Regions from separate parts of the Homo sapiens genome. Here all the other regions are linked to region 1. Evidence: promoter capture Hi-C in 16 types of primary human blood cells and fetal thymus (Javierre and others, 2016). All regions are on one chromosome and are shown on one strand. Each heading gives the region's core, a stretch centred on a gene start or on the middle of the fragment in contact. The rest is flanking DNA. Distances are from core to core; before and after follow the strand shown. Region 1 holds the start of GOLT1A (golgi transport 1A). Region 2 overlaps PPP1R15B (protein phosphatase 1 regulatory subunit 15B). Region 3 has its middle 21 kb from the start of LINC00628.

Region 1 (2,857 bases), core at 94-2,593:
AAAAAAAAAAAAAGAACTGGCTTCCCTGCTGCTGCCTTCATACCTCCACAGTCTATTCTCAACCCAGCACCCAGAATGATCTTTTAAACATAGAAATAGAACATATCACACCATAGCACAAAACCAAGGTCATTACCATGGTCTATAAGTCTCCAGTGTCCTGACCCCTCAGTGACATCCCTGACCTAAACTCCTATGATTCTCCCCTCACCTCACTTTGCTCCAGGTATACCCACCTCCTTGTTGTTCTTCAAACACACCAAGTATGCTAATGCCTCAGGGCCTTTGCACTGCCTGTCCCTGCTTCCTGAACATTTCCCCTCCAGAGAGCTGCGTGGCTTTGCTTCCTCACTTCCTATAGATCTCTGAAAAAAGATCTGAATAAAGGCTCACCTTCTCAGTGAGGCTTCCCTGACCACTCTATATAAAATAGCGACCCCTCCTACCTCGAACTCCATAGCCTCCTCTTGTTTTATTTTCATCTGGAGGACTTATCATCTTCTGATATACTATATACTTCTTTCTGTTAATTACCTGTCTCCCCTCTCTAGAATGTAAGCAGGGAGTCAGTTTCATTTAATGTTGGACACTCTATATCCAACACAGTGCTTGGCACACAGCAGAGACAAATCTGTTGAGTGAACAAAAGAATGTTGTCACCAATTCTCAGATGAAAAACCAAGGCTCAGAGGCTTTAAGTAACTCACCCAAATGAAGCCCACAGAGCCACGGTTCTTCCCATGGCCCCAGACTTGTTCCAAGACCTCCTCCCTACCTCTTCCCCCAAAAGAAGGGGAAGGATGTTTAGGAGTGAGGGTATGGTGGTTTGGTCAGGGGAGTGGAGTTTAGTTTTTTATAAGAAGCCCCCAGGGCCACAGGAGACCTTGATGGTGTGGGGAAAGATGTCTGAATGGGCAGAGGCCTCCTGAGTCCACCTTTGTGGCAACCCAGTTCTAAGAACCCGGGATGGGAAAGGGGTCAGTGTGAATGGGGAACCTGCCAGGCCCCCTGGGCACCAGCCTCTAGCTACCTGTGGGCCCTGAGCAACTCCCACCCGCTGGAGGGTAGGGAGCCACACCCCACCCTGCCTGCTGCCCCAGGGTGCCAGCACAGCATCTCCCAGCCCCTGGCTCCAGAGGTCACGCTTGTAGTGACAGAGAGCCCAGCTGGGAGAGAGAGCCAGCCGGCAGGGAGCCTGGCCTGGATAGCCCATTGCAGCCCCGCTCATCCCACTTACTCTGCCATTCGGTGATGGAGATCATGCCGCACTCAGCCTGGGGGGCTTTCCGGGTGGAAGCGGGCAAGTGGAGCGTGGCCCAGAGGACGCAGCTGGTACATGGTCACGGGAAGCTGACCCTTGGTTAAGTTGCGAAATGAGCCTGTGGCAAATCATTAACTCTCCCTCCAGCCCCCGCTCCACCCCCGCACACCACGCAGGTGCTTCTACTCGCCAGCTCCCTCCTCCCGTTTTCCGGTAGGGCAATGCCCCGCCCCTCCACCTGCCGCGCCTGCCCGGGGAAGGCACCGCCCACCTGACCCTTTCCTCGCACCTCGCGGTGTTCTGCGGCTCTCGTCTGCTCCGCGAAACTTAGATTGTATGTGGAAGCATTGGAATCTAGGGGGTGCTCAAGTTTCTTGCTTGGTTTGATAGTGTGGGAAGAGTTGGCATCTGCGCATCCCTTTGGGAATGTACTAAATTCATCTTGAAAGTCAAGCTTTTTGCTCTCTGCTATTGCACATGCTAGGCGCTGGGAGGCGATGAGCGACTGAGCACAAAGCCTGTTGTTGACCTAATGGCAGAGCCAGATCGGGTTAAATCAATGGCAAAAGCGCCATGGGGGAAGTTAGACGTGAAGGTCTTCGACCTCCTTTCCCCAAGCGGCGTCCAAGCTTTGGACTGACTGTGATGTTGAGCTATGGAAGACAAAGCCCTGAATTTGGGGTTGGGGCAGGACTGCACAATTTAGGAGGCCTGGTTCTAGTCTACCCACCAGCTGTGTAGACATGGATTCGTCCTTTGGGCCTGCAAAAAGAGAGGCAGTTAGTTCCTAACATCCTTTTTTCCCATCGCAGAGCAGTGGTTCTGACGTGGCATTGATGCCAGGAGAGCCAACATCCACTTTGCAATGTCTTCTGTGTCCAGAAATGAAGAAATGAATTTCAAAGACTACCTATATACATCATTTAAAAATGCAAATAGGCCTGGCATACAAAATGCATTATGTCTGTAATCCCAGCATTTTGGGAGGCCAAGGCAGGAGGATTGCTTGAGCCCAGGAGTTTGAGACCAGCCTGAGCAACATAGTGAGACCTTGTCTCTACAATAATAAAAATAAAAAATTAGCCGGATGTGGTGGTACCTGCCTGTAGTCCCAGCTACTGGGGAGGCTAAGGTAGGAGGATTGCTTGAGCCCAGAAGGTCGAGGCTGCGATGAGCTGTGATCAAGCCATGCACTCCAGCCTGGGTAGCAGAGCGAGATCCTGTCTCAAAAAAAAACAAACCAAACAACAACAACAAAACCAAGGAAAGCTAACATAATTTTTTAAAAAGAAACAAAAAGATAAATTATAATAAAACATGATGTCTTTCAATATATAAATGTTCAGGCAAGACTTACCAGAAGACATAAATGAAATAGGCAGATTGCTTGCACCCACACATAATATATGTTTGAATTTAAGAGAAATAGAAGATGAGCCATTCTATGCAAAAACAAAAATCACACACATGCAAGAAAATGAAAGAGTAGCAGGAAGTGAACATAGAATAAAAACTGTTAGATAAGGAATAACAGACCAGACGTACTTGCATATGATGAGAGGGAAAGCATCTTAATTGAAATAGGGATAACATAGC
Region 2 (2,857 bases), core at 95-2,594, 190 kb after region 1:
AATTTCTAGGCTTTTAAGTTTAAAAAATAAATGATTATGATGTAATTATTACTTTCCAGAGTGTTTTGCAATAACTTCAACCTGTTAAGAGATACAAAGAACTATATTAAACTGGGAACTACAATAACGTACACAGAACCCTCTTCAAAGAAATTAAATATATTAGATGTTAAAATGTGGTAGAAAGATGCAGCTTTCCCAAAGTAGTAAAGTACTGCACATATGGGTTTTGTGGCAGTCCTTGGAAATATCCTAGGTAGAACTTAATGTAGAAATAAAAAGGCTACCACATATTTTCAATCCAAGTCATTTTTACAAGAAAAAAAAAAGTGACACAAAATAATGCACTTTAAGTTGGTAGCATACACAAGGTTATTTTTTAGCCTAACATAGACAGGCCAAATCATTGAAATAAAAAAAATATAGAAAAACATAAAAGCCCATTAACTTCTGAATTTTGGGAAAGAAACAAGAAAGAGCCCAAAGTTTTCAGATAGGCACACATAATTTAGATTAGAAATGAAAATGGGCTTTAAGCCCTATAAATATTGTTTTCCAAGAAAATAAGTTTTGAAAGTGCAAAATGACAACTCAAAAAGGTCCCCTTTCCACCTCATGCAGGCAAAGGACATTTAAAAGCACATCCAACTAAATCAAAAAAGGGAGGATTAGAAATCACACTAGTTCATCCTTCATTATCAGGGCTGGCTTCAAACCTGAATGTTTCTGAGTGGGATATGTTGCAAAAAAAAAAATTAAACTAGATCCAAGTTACATTTCCTCTAAAAAAAAAAATGTCAAAGGACAGCTGCCAAGATTTGTTTTTAAAAGACACCTCTCAGGTAAGAGGTAGTGTATGCTAGCTAGGACTACAGGCTGCCAACTCAACATTGCTTGAGAACATTAAGTCCTTTGAAGCATGTTCCCTGGAGTCTATTAAACATTCTTTCTCTGTGTTCAAATGTCAAGCAATATCCAATAGCATCTTCTGTTTCTTGAATTCGTTTCTGGAACCTGCATCCATCCCTTGCAAATTCTTCCCATGGTCCTTTGCGATCCTCATCACCACTTATATAATACTCAGTAACTTCTTCAAGGAAGGTTACCTACAAAAACAAAGACTAATTTTAATAACTGTCTAGGATCTTACAATCAGCATTGAGGTCAATAACCCTTTATGCTACCAATTCTTTCAGAATATTCCCAACTAAGAATAACATATTATTATTAGGAATATTTGGTCCCAGCTATATTTGAAGTTAAAAAAAAAGTTCTGTCACGCCTGTAATCCCAGCATTTTGGGAGGCGGAAGCAGGCGGATCACCTGAGGTCAGGAGTTCAAGACCAGCCTGACCAACACAGTGAAACCCTGTCTCTAGTAAAAATACGAAAAAATTAGCCAGGCGTGGTGGCACATGCCTGTAATCCCAGCTACGCAGGAGGCTGAGGTAGGAGAACAGTTTGAACCTGGGAGGTGGAGGTTGCAGTGAGCCAATATCGCGCCACTACACTCTAGCCTGTGCAACAAGAGCAAAACTCTGTCTCAAAAAAAAAAAAGTTCAGATTAGATGGCATTTGGATAAAATAGTGAACAAATGTCACCTAAATATTTCATATAGAGATATATATCTTTCATCTATATATACTTCATTTATCTATATCTGCATAATATACACACACAGTCGTCTGCCCCCCCCAATCCCCCACCAGCCCTTGGCTTTTGGTGTTAATAAAATGAATCCAGATAGGGAATTGAATTTTTCATGCTGTTATTAACCCCTGCTATTTTTTAATCCTTAGGGAAATACAGTTCTGTGATATTTTTCCCTCAAAATGACAAGCAAAATATTTCTGAAAATAACCACTATATCCCTGGAAGTCACTGTTTTTATCACTGCATAAAGGCTTTAACAATATTTTTGCTTACTTCTATTCTTTTTCCTTTTAAAAATTTTTTTCACTTTCCAACTTTTAAATCAACATGTTGTACTATTTTTGTATCATTACTTTGGCAATAACAATACAGAAGAGAAAAAGTTACTTAGTAAACAAAGTATAGCAAAATTAGTATTTTTAAAGCTGTGTTACTCTAAGAAACTTTGTAGTTAAGATTTTAAAAACCTTTGTATTCAATATGCTATCACTATATATGAAATTGTGATTCTAATATACATAATGACATGTAATGAGTGACAATCCCTACTCATTACTAATCACTACTTAATTTCTAATGAAGTTTCTTTCTAAGATATCAAACTCCAAAAGTAAATACTTGCTTTCAAGTATGTTTAATAGTTACATCAGCTAACCCCAATGTGGCCTACTACTTTCGTTCCCTTTACATCAAGCCAAGGGATGCCCCTGAGGACAATTAGCAGGTATGTAACACCTTACTAGTTATTGCATTCTAGTCTTGAATACTACTCATTCATTGTGTCATTAAGATAAATAATAAAAACGTACAGTGTTTACCATATACCAGGCTTTTTTTAAAGAGCTTTACATTTTTATCTCATCTAATCCTCACATTAACCCTATGAGGTATGGACTATTATCATCCCCATTATACCGATAAGAAAACAGAGGTAGAAGGGTTTTTTAGACTCACTGTCCATCATCCTATATACTCCATATATTCCATACACCATTCCCCATATATACCAATGGCAGGTAGTCAAAGGCTGTCAAATAATTATATCATATTCAGACATAATCATTTATAAATTCTGCTTCTAGTTCATAGTCAATAGTATCATCTACTCCACTCATTTCATTTTACTCAACGAGCAAGCTAAAACAAGACATGAGACTGGCCTGAGGTCTCTCAATAAGAGCTAGCATTTAAAGGCAAGGCAAT
Region 3 (2,857 bases), core at 246-2,745, 180 kb after region 1:
ATTAAATTAAATTAAAACTAAAGAAAATGTGATCTGCTCCGGGTCCTCTTTCCACTGAGGTGGCAGCAGATTCAATCTCAGTCATTATTGGGCCTCTCCCCACAACCTCTACAGTTATAAGGAGGTCCGAGGAGTCCAAAAGATCCAGGAAGGGCCCTTTAATCTTCAGCTCCATATGCACCTGGCTTTAGCCTCTGTCATTCCTTGAAGGATTGGCTGCTTCTTTTTTTTTTTTTTTTTTTTTTTTTTTTTTGAGACAGAATCTGGCTGTTGCCCAGGCTGGAGCTGGAGTGCAGTGGTGCAATTTCGGCTCACTGCAACCCCTGCCTCCCAGGTTCAAGCGATTCTCCTGCCTCGGCCTCCTGAGTAGCTGGGATTACAGGCACACACCACCACACCCAGCTAGTTTTTGTATTTTTAGCAGAGATGGAGTTTCACCATATTGGTCAGGCTGGTCTTGAACTCCTGATCTCCTGATTCGCCCGCCTCGGCCTCCCAAAATGCTGGGATTACAGGCGTGAGCCACCACGCCCGGCCAGGATTGGCTGCTTCTTGGCCAACCTAGGACTTGGGGAAAAAGGATAGATAAGAGAGGTTGAGGGGTTTTGTGGGAGCAAACTTTCGATCCAGTCTACTCACAGGACCTCCCAAAAACTCCATGCCATTTTCATCTCTGAAATTGCTTTGAACATGCCTCTGGTCTGTGAATCCCACCTGTCTTTACCTAAGCCCTTCTCTTCTTTTCCTCCTCCCTTAGGACTGTCCTACAAAATTTCCCTTAGGTGGTCTATCTCACTGCTTCCCACAAATGAGAAAGGGGAATAAGGTGTTACAAATGGCCAATTATTCATGTGAAACAGAACTCTTACATCTCCCTCCACCAAGCTGCTCCCCTTTCAGAATTTCCTATCTCAATGAAAACATCACCTTCCTCCTTGTCACCAAGCCTAGTAAAGCTGACTCCTTTGTGATTTCTCCTTCTCCTTCATCTAACAAGCCACTGAATCCTGCCAACTATTACACCTCCATGGCTCCCCCTTTCCACTCTAACCATCCCTTTGGTTGAGCTCATTACCTCAGGCCTATATTTGAACAAGAGCATCCTACTTGATCTATTATAATTGCTCCTCAGTTCAATCCATCCACAAATGATCCAAGAGCTATTCCAAAAGAACCCATCTGACCATGTCACTCCCATAATGGTTTGTCACTTTATGTAGAATAAAACAGACCAACTTTGTTAGCATGGCATTCAAAGTACTCTATCATTTAGACCCTACATAACGAACTTTATCCCCCACTATTCTTCTCTATCCCCCAGGACCTCCACCCAAACTTATCAGCCTATTAGCCATTTCCCCAGCATGTTTCCCATATCCTTCCATTTCTACCTTTTCTCCAAAGCTATTTTTCCTACTTGAAATATCCTTTGCCTTGCTACCCTTTAACTGCCCCATTCCCTCAACATCCACCCAGTCAAGAGTACTCATTTGTTAGAGTCCAACCCTATCTAATCCAAAAAGAAGGAATTAACATTTACCTAGAAAAGGAGTGAAGCATTGTAGTTAGAGGCATGGGATCTGGAGCCAGACTGGGTTTCACTCCTAGTTCTCTGCCATTCCCTAGTTACGTAACTCGGGTGGGTTACTATGCTTCAGGTCCCTCATCTGTAAATCGGGATATATATCATAATATATACTATGTGAGTATTTGATATTATGAGACAAATATGGTGTAAGAACTTGTCATATATTACCTACTTTAATCCTCCCAACTACTTTGAGAGATATTATTATTCAAATTTTACAGATGGCCTCTTAAGACTCAAATAATTTACTTATGGGCACACAGCTGGTGGAAATGGAAAGCTGGAATTCAACCTCAAATCTGTCTGGACCAATGCCCAGGTTCTCTTTACAGCACTGGAAAGAGCACTAGGAAAGAAGCAGAGAGGTCTAATCTCTCAAACTTACTCTCAGGTGGAGACCGTAAAAGAGAATGTGTGTGCTGGTAAGGAGCATAGAGAAACACAGGAGCATGAGGAAGTAATATTAGGCTCAGAGTCAAAGGCAGTTGACAGGCCAATATGTAACCCGACAAGGGAAAAAAAATGACAGGAAACATGGGTGTGAGCCCAAGAGCAATATCAGACTTTGTTACTGAGAAAAGGTAACAAAACAGTTAACTTGAGAAGACAGGTGTTACATCTAACATCTTAACTTTAAGGAGCCTAGCACAAAATCAGGGACTTGAAGAGTTTAAAGAAGTCACTTGGCCAGGTGCTCTGGCTCACACCTATAATCCTAGCACTTTGGGAGGGACACGAGGCAGGAGGACGGCTTGAGCCCAGGAGTTCAAGGTTGTAGTAAGCCATGATGGTGCTAATGCCCTCCAGCCTGGGTGACAGAGGGAGACCCTGTCTTAAAAAAAGTCACTCCATTATCTCACCCAGTTCTTAAAGTACTGAAAGAAAAACCATCAACCTAGAATTCTAAAGCTAATAAAAATATTTTTCTAAAGTGAGGGAAGAAGTAAAGACTTTTTCAGACAAAATCTGAGATAAATCATCAGCAGCAAGGTTACATGACAAGAAATGTTCAAGAAGCTCTTCAGGCAGATGGAAAATAATATCTAATAGAAAACTGGATCTACACAAAGCAGCAGAAATGGTAAACAAGTGGTAAATAAAGATGTTTTCTAATTCTCAATCTCTTTAAAAGATGATGAACTCTTTAAAGCAAAAACAATAGCAACATATTGTAGGTTTATAACTTTTGTATAAGAAAAAAGGTACCACAACAGCAGCACAAGGGACAGGAGGAAGGAAATGGAAGCATACTGTTGTTAGGTGCACACA

The links. The method cuts DNA at HindIII sites, captures the fragments that hold promoters and counts their contacts. A CHiCAGO score of 5 or more calls a contact.
Region 2: a contact is called between a fragment that was not itself captured here and the fragment with the promoter of GOLT1A in region 1, in 2 of 17 cell types (megakaryocytes and M2 macrophages). The highest score is 7.9, in megakaryocytes.
Region 3: a contact is called between a fragment that was not itself captured here and the fragment with the promoter of GOLT1A in region 1, in 4 of 17 cell types (M0 macrophages, megakaryocytes, M2 macrophages and 1 more). The highest score is 6.7, in M0 macrophages.

The regions. Positions count from the first base shown.
Region 1 is chr1:204,212,645-204,215,501 of GRCh38, forward strand. GOLT1A (golgi transport 1A) reads right to left here and starts at 1,344. Exons shown (of 5, transcript NM_198447.2): 1 at 1,238-1,344. The coding sequence starts at 1,262. RefSeq lists an enhancer at 1,215-1,871. The HindIII fragment of the contact is 7,307 bases long and covers 1-1,713 here.
Region 2 is chr1:204,405,208-204,408,064 of GRCh38, forward strand. It overlaps PPP1R15B (protein phosphatase 1 regulatory subunit 15B), which reads right to left. Exons shown (of 2, transcript NM_032833.5): 2 at 1-1,106. The coding sequence ends at 885. Among named protein-coding and RNA genes, the nearest start is that of PPP1R15B, 5.2 kb to the right of the region's middle. The HindIII fragment of the contact is 5,303 bases long and covers 1-2,857 here.
Region 3 is chr1:204,388,960-204,391,816 of GRCh38, forward strand. No RefSeq gene overlaps it. Among named protein-coding and RNA genes, the nearest start is that of LINC00628, 21 kb to the left of the region's middle. The HindIII fragment of the contact is 8,300 bases long and covers 1-2,857 here.